Linked DNA regions of Homo sapiens: region 1 is linked to region 2. Evidence: promoter capture Hi-C in 16 types of primary human blood cells and fetal thymus (Javierre and others, 2016). All regions are on one chromosome and are shown on one strand. The core of a region is centred on a gene start or on the middle of the fragment in contact, and the rest is flanking DNA. Distances in the headings are between cores, read along the strand shown.

What was found. Contacts are between HindIII fragments. The CHiCAGO score rates a contact against its expected background, and 5 or more counts as called.
Region 1: a fragment that was not itself captured here is called in contact with the fragment with the promoter of ZNRF1 in region 2 in 2 of 17 cell types (neutrophils and naive CD8 T cells); the score reaches 6.2 in neutrophils.

Annotation. Positions count from the first base shown.
Region 1 is chr16:75,651,642-75,655,018 of GRCh38, forward strand. TERF2IP (TERF2 interacting protein) reads left to right here. Exons shown (of 3, transcript NM_018975.4): 2 at 2,632-2,756. Among named protein-coding and RNA genes, the nearest start is that of TERF2IP, 5.6 kb to the left of the region's middle. The HindIII fragment of the contact is 2,243 bases long and covers 689-2,931 here.
Region 2 is chr16:74,997,774-75,001,173 of GRCh38, forward strand. It overlaps ZNRF1 (zinc and ring finger 1), which reads left to right and starts at 1,251. Exons shown (of 5, transcript NM_032268.5): 1 at 1,251-2,322. The coding sequence starts at 1,899. RefSeq lists silencers at 1,043-1,562, 1,963-2,272 and an enhancer at 3,063-3,122. The HindIII fragment of the contact is 6,289 bases long and covers 1-3,400 here.

The DNA.
Region 1 (3,377 bases), core at 560-3,059, 650 kb after region 2:
TCAAGCCCCTGCACTCCAGCCTGGGTGACAGAACCAGACTCCATCTCGGAAAGAAAAAAAGAAGAAGAAAGAAAGTAAATCAGACCCTGAGCCTAGGGTCAGTATAAGCTATACTTTGACCCATGAGACCTGTGAGATAATAAATATGTGTGTTGGAATTGTTTTGTATTTATTTGATGAATTGAGATAGCTTCCATTATACAAAATAGAACAAAAGCTCCCCAAGTTATTTATTTTTTTTAACTAAATCAGAGCAAGGAGATGTTATACTTTATCTATAAGATTGGCAAAAGTCAATACAATGGGTAATATCCAAAGTTAGTGTATGGGAAAACAAGTATACTCCTACGTTGTTAATAGAAATTGATACAATTTCTTTGGGGGGCATTTTGACAATATCTGATGACATTTATAACGTATATTCCCTTAAACATGGCAGTTTTGTTCTAGGAATTTATCCCGTAGATATACTCAGAGTACAAATGGGTACATACTGAAAAGGCAGTCTCCCTATTTACATACCCTTTTCCCTGGGTCCTTTCCTAGGGGCAGCCTCTATTACCGTCTCTTGTCTGTTGCATGTCCCCTTTGCTCATAGTAATACTAGCACACTAGACATCAACTTAATCTGTGGTTTACTTTTTTTAAACTTAATTATTTATCTTGAAGTGTTTGTGTGTCTGCACAAAGCTTTTCCTCATTCTTTTCTAATTGATTGCACTGTATTTCATTATGTGAATGAACAGTAATTTACTTTTTATTATGGAGAATTCCAAGCATTTACAAATACAGAATAGTATAATGAACTATACTGCATATACCCATCACCCACCTTCACCTGATTTTAGTTCATGGCATTTTTTAAATCTATACTTTTCATCCCAACTTCCTGGACTGTTTTGAAGCAAATGCCAGACATCATATCATTTTATCTATTTTAGCATGTATCTCTCAAAGATAAGCCTCTTTTAGTTACTATTTAAGAATTTTATTAAATACATACAGTAAAATTAACTTTTTATGGTGTAAAATTATATGCATTTTAAAAACTTTATTTTTTATTGTGGTAAAATGTATATACCGTAAAATTTACAGTTCAGATAGTTTTTTAAGTGTTCTGTTCAGTGGCATTATTAAGTGCATTCACATTGTTGGGCAACTGTCACCACCATCTGTATCTAGAACTTACTCATTTTCTAAAACTGAAACTCCATGCCTTTTATTATTTTCTGCTTCTAGGGGTCAGAAACATGCCTATTAAACACTAATTCCCCATTTCTCCCTCCTCTTAGCCCCTGGAAACAACCATTCCGCCTTCTGTTTCTATGAATTCAATATTTCTAGATACCTCATACAAGTAGAATCATGTAATATTTGCCCTTTTGTGTCTGGCTTATTTCACTTTACATAATATCTTCAAAGTTCATCCATATTGTAGCATGTGTCAGAATTTGATTCCTTTTTAAAGGTGAATAATATTCCATTGTATGTATATACTACATTTTGTTTTTCCATTAATGTATCAATTGACATTTGGCTTATTTCCATCTTTTGTTTATTTTGAATAATGCTGCTGTGAACATGGGTATAACTAGTATCTGTTTGAGACCCTGCTTTCCATTATTTTAGGTATATGCCTAGAAATGCAATTGCTGGATCATATGGTAATTTTATGTTTAATTTTTTCTTTTTCCTTGTGGGTTGTCATCATGAAATTATATTGAATTTTTTGAGGAACTGCTGTACTCTTTTCCAGTTATATGTGTTTTAACATAGGTAAATTTTTGTAACCAGCACCCACATTGGGATTTAGAACAATTCCATCACGAAAAACTCCCTCTTGCTGCCCCTTTGTAGTATGTTTTAGTAAGTAGAAAAGGAGCAGAGTTAAATCTTCAGAGAACAAAATGTAAAGGAAAGGAACAGGATGTTTAAATTTAGGAGGCCCTCCTTTTTGTAGATGGTATATTGGTGGATTGTGGTACGTGGCCCAGATCTGCCTTTGGCTGCTAGGAGAGCTGCCTTGCCCAAACTCCTGTCTTCTTAGGGCTGCCACCATCCAGTGACTGATATTTGCAGAGTTACAAAGTCTGCTCCTTGGCCCCAGCTTGGTCAGTTCTGAAGGGCCTTCCTAGCTCCAGAGTTGCCCATGGTTTTGGCTGAGGTCTTGTTGAAACTCTTTGATAAGTCAGCTTCTCTCTCTGCCCACTCCTGCTCTTCCACAAAGGTTTTCCCAAAATCACTTCCCAATTCTTTAAATTTCCATCTCCATCTCAGAATTTGCTTCCCAAGGAACCCAATTTATGACACATTTTTATTAATTTGCAAAGTCTGTAACTACAAAGCAAAAAATGAATTAAACTTGAGCATTTTTATATGTCAGAGTTTAAGAATGTATCATTGTTTGGATAGTACATCTTTTCAGAAGCAAGCATAGAAATGGGTGAATGAGCACGTCCTAGGCTTTTTTTACCCTTCTGAATCAAGAACAGATGTCTTCTGATAGTAAAAAAAAAAAAAAAAAAAAAAAAAGTGCAGGCTCACTCCTGGCCCAGAGCTCACACAGCAAATATATTTTTGGTTTATGTAAAAGAGGCTATTGCTAATCTGTGCTGTTCTTCTCTTTAACAGAACCACAGAATAAGAGAACTCCAGATTTGCCTGAAGAAGAGTATGTGAAGGAAGAAATCCAGGAGAATGAAGAAGCAGTCAAAAAGATGCTTGTGGAAGCCACCCGGGAGTTTGAGGAGGTTGTGGTATGTTAACTAGATTTACTCATTATTTTTTTCCCTACCTTCATTCTTCTTTGAAACTGGTTATCCTGTACACCTTTTTCATCTACCTGGGGCTCAGGAAAGTGAGAGAGGAGTTCAAGATGGAAAGGGAAAATGGAAAATGGGACTGATCTGGGCTTCAGACATGTTGCCCTGAAGCTTTTGCTTCACAAAGCTTTTAGTTTTTGGCAGGACAAGTTGAGGGGGAAAGGGAGAAAAATTGGGTAGAATAGGGACAGTTGTATAAACAGTATAAAGCATCCCACTTTGAGTACTTTAATGTCAATATATTTTTCAAAAAGTTTATAGTAATTGTTTTTTCTATTTTTTTGAGCCAGAGTCTGGCTCTGTCGCCCAGGCTGGAGTGCAGTGGTGCGATCTTGGCTCACTGCAAGCTCCGCCTCCTGGGTTCACACCATTCTCCTGCCTCAGCCTCCCGAGTAGCTGGGACTACAGGCGCCCACCACCATGCCTGGCTAATTATTTGTATTTTTAGTAGAGACGGGGTTTCACTGTGTTAGCCAGGATGGCCTCGATCTCCTGACCTCGTGATCCGCCCGCCTTGGCCTCCCAAAGTGCTGGGATTACAGGCGTGAGCCACCG
Region 2 (3,400 bases), core at 1-2,500:
AGCCTGGGAGGAGCAAGGCTCCGTCTCAAAAAAAAAAAAAAAGAAAAGAAAAAAAAGAAAAAGAAAAACAGGGCGGGCGCGGTGGCTCATGCCTGTAATCCTAACACTTTGGGAGGCCAAGGCAGGTGGATTACCTGAGGTCAGGAGTTCAAGACCAGCCTGGCCAATACGGTGAAACCCCGCCTCTACTAAAAATACAAAAAATTAGCCAGGTGCAGTGTGGCATGTGCCTGTAATCCCAGCTACTCGGGAGGCTGAGGCAGGAGAATCACTTGAATCCGGGAGGCGGAGGTTGCGGTGAGCCGAGGTTACGCCACACCACTCCAGCCTGGGTGACAGGGCGAGATTACGTCTCAAAAACAAAAACAAAACAAAACAAAAAAAACAGTTGTTCAATAAATGAATGTGAATATAGGAGAAAGACGGCTTGAGGTAGCAAAGGAACACTCCCTTGCAAATGATTCAGGCTTGGTCAACAATACACCTATTGAGTACCCACCGTGTCCTTGGCCCGTGGTGAGGGCCGAAACACAGCACATGGTAAACAAAACAGGGCTCCAGCCTTGGACAGAAGGTTTCTATAATCACTTCTAGCTGCGTTGTTCTATTTCCATACCCATATCTATTCACTTTTTATGGTACATCTATTGATTCTGAAAATTACATTTTAGCTAAGGAATCTACTCATTTGCTTAAGCCCAAAATAGGAAGTTATGATCTAGTGTCAGCAAAACGCCGGATTCACAAGTGTCCCCATGGCGCTGTTTACCCCCAAATAACTAAACCCCGCCAAATGTTGAGATTCCGGACGTGAGGGGTGCTTGGATGGGGAACCCCCGAAAGAATGGACATCACGTCCACCAGAGGGTGCTGTGGGGGCAAATTTGTGCCAGGAGGGGAGCTCGACCGGTGACCCTCAGAGCCAGGTAGGCGTAAGGAGTAAATCTCCTTCTTCCCGGTGTTTCCTTCCCACCCCCTCGAACCATTGCTGCCCCTCCCCCATACTTGGTTCCCCCTGAATAATTTGCCACTTTCGGGGACTTAAGAAGTGTTTGCTTTTGAAAGACATCTGGTTTCTGTGGCTAACGCCCAGTGGTCAGGCCGCCCAGGTCACAGGCCGGCCGGGGGCGGGCGGTGGGTGGGGACTGCTGGGGCGTCAGCGGCCCAGGCGCCGCAGGGACCGCGAAAGGGTTAACCCGGCGGGGGGAGGGGGAGGGGGCGCGGGCCGCGCCTGCGCTCTGCCGCCCTCCATTGTCTCCACGGCGGCGAGGAGCGCCGGCGAGCGCAGCCCGGGACCGAGCGGGGCGGCGCGGCTGGCGGGGCCGGCGGCGGCTGAAGCGAGAGCGCGACGCGACGCGACCGCGGCTTCCCGAGCTGCGCCTGGCCGCCCAGCGCCGCGGCCCGCCCGAGGCCTGGAGGGGTCCGGGCCGCCGTCCATGGTCGCGGCGTCCTGAGGCGGGGGACGCGCCCGGCGCCCCCGGCCCTCCTCCGCCTCCTCCCGCGGGGCGGGCGGCCTCCTCCGGCGCCTCCCCGCGCCCGCCCGCCGCTCGCCGCCGCCTCCCTCCCTCCTTCCCTGCGGCTCCCCCGGCTTTCGGAGCCCGGGGGCGGCCTGTGGCGCGCGGAGCCCGCGCCGGACTGCGCCTCTTTGGACCTTGAGGGGAAACATGCGTTTGCCTTGGATCGTTTGAAATTCTGAGTTTGGGATCCCCGCCCGCCCGCCTGCCTCTTCCGCCCCGCGGGTTTTTTCCTTTTTTCCTTTTGCTTTTTTTCCTTTTCTCCCTCCGGGTCTCCTTTTTGACTCCCTCCCCCTTTATGCTCGCCCAGCCCTCCCCCTGCTGCTGAGAAGTGGGGGAGGGTCTCGGCCTCCAGGTTCCCGCCCCACCGGGGCCCGGGCGAGCATGGGGGGCAAGCAGAGCACGGCGGCCCGCTCCCGGGGCCCCTTCCCGGGGGTCTCCACCGATGACAGCGCCGTGCCGCCGCCGGGAGGGGCGCCCCATTTCGGGCACTACCGGACGGGCGGCGGGGCCATGGGGCTGCGCAGCCGCTCGGTCAGCTCGGTGGCAGGCATGGGCATGGACCCCAGCACGGCCGGGGGGGTGCCCTTTGGCCTCTACACCCCCGCCTCCCGGGGCACCGGCGACTCCGAGAGGGCGCCCGGCGGCGGAGGGTCTGCGTCCGACTCCACCTATGCCCATGGCAATGGTTACCAGGAGACGGGCGGCGGTCACCATAGAGACGGGATGCTGTACCTGGGCTCCCGAGCCTCGCTGGCGGATGCTCTACCTCTGCACATCGCACCCAGGTGGTTCAGCTCGCATAGTGGTGAGTCCGCGGGTGGTGGAGGCCTCGGAGGGAGGGCGCGCCGGGGCGCCCCAAGCCTTCGCGTGCGTGCCAAGGTTTGGGAATGTAGTGCACGACCGGGATCTGTCTGCATTCCCTTTGGTTCCCGATGCCAAGGGATAAATGGGATACCTACCGTCTGGAAACTAGGCTTTCTGCGAGGCTGCGGAGCCTGGCGATTTAGGGACTCACGGCGTGTGTTCACTTGTGGAAGGGCAGAGCGAAGCCTACCTATTGGAGTTCCATTTATTGGCATCACCCTCCTCAGAGAAGAGGTCGTGTCTGGCTGAGAGCAAGTCAGCCTGGGTACTTCCATTCTGCCACTGCAGCACTGTGCCTGCCTCACCGGTAACGGAGAGATGGAGCCAGTTGGAGCAAGCAGTGTCTCCTAAACAGAGTGTGTGAAAATGAAATAAAATCAGGGGCAAGTGATGCCTGGATTAGGGCTCTCACTCTTGCTGGGAGAGAGAGGTGCCCAGTTTTGCCACCCTGCTGGAGATCTGTTTGAAATGTTTAAAATGGAGCAGCCGGCAGGCGGCTGGCATAGACAGGTGTGGCTGCTGTACGGAGGGCCCAGCCGGCGAGTCTCGCGGGGGCTTTGCAGGACCCGGGCTGTGGTCACCCGTACTGCATGCAGCAGGCTTGGCTCCGCGACTCTCGCCTCCCTCCATCTTTTTTTCTTCTGCTCCATGCTAAGTGCTTGGTCTTCCCGTGAATCTGCATCTTTTTGTAACAGGGAGCCTGTCACGGTGGGGCATTATTGCCTGGCTGTTGGCACATGACTGGGGAAAAGGAGGATTCAGAGAATCTGGATGAATTCATTTTATGAACTTCTGGTGACAGGCCAGCAAAAGGTTGGAGGGGGATTTCCCAGGCTCCTAGCGGGAGGGCAAAAAAGGCCTGGCAGGAGGAAAACAGGTCTGTCTGCTAGGTCAGGCATCTAGAAAATTGGCCAAAAGGGATGTGGGGGCCGCTATTTGCTAATTGGCAAGTTGAGTGATGAAGTTACATCTTAAGATTCTTTTGGGTGAGTTGGGAAAATTTAGATAGTGTAGGGGAA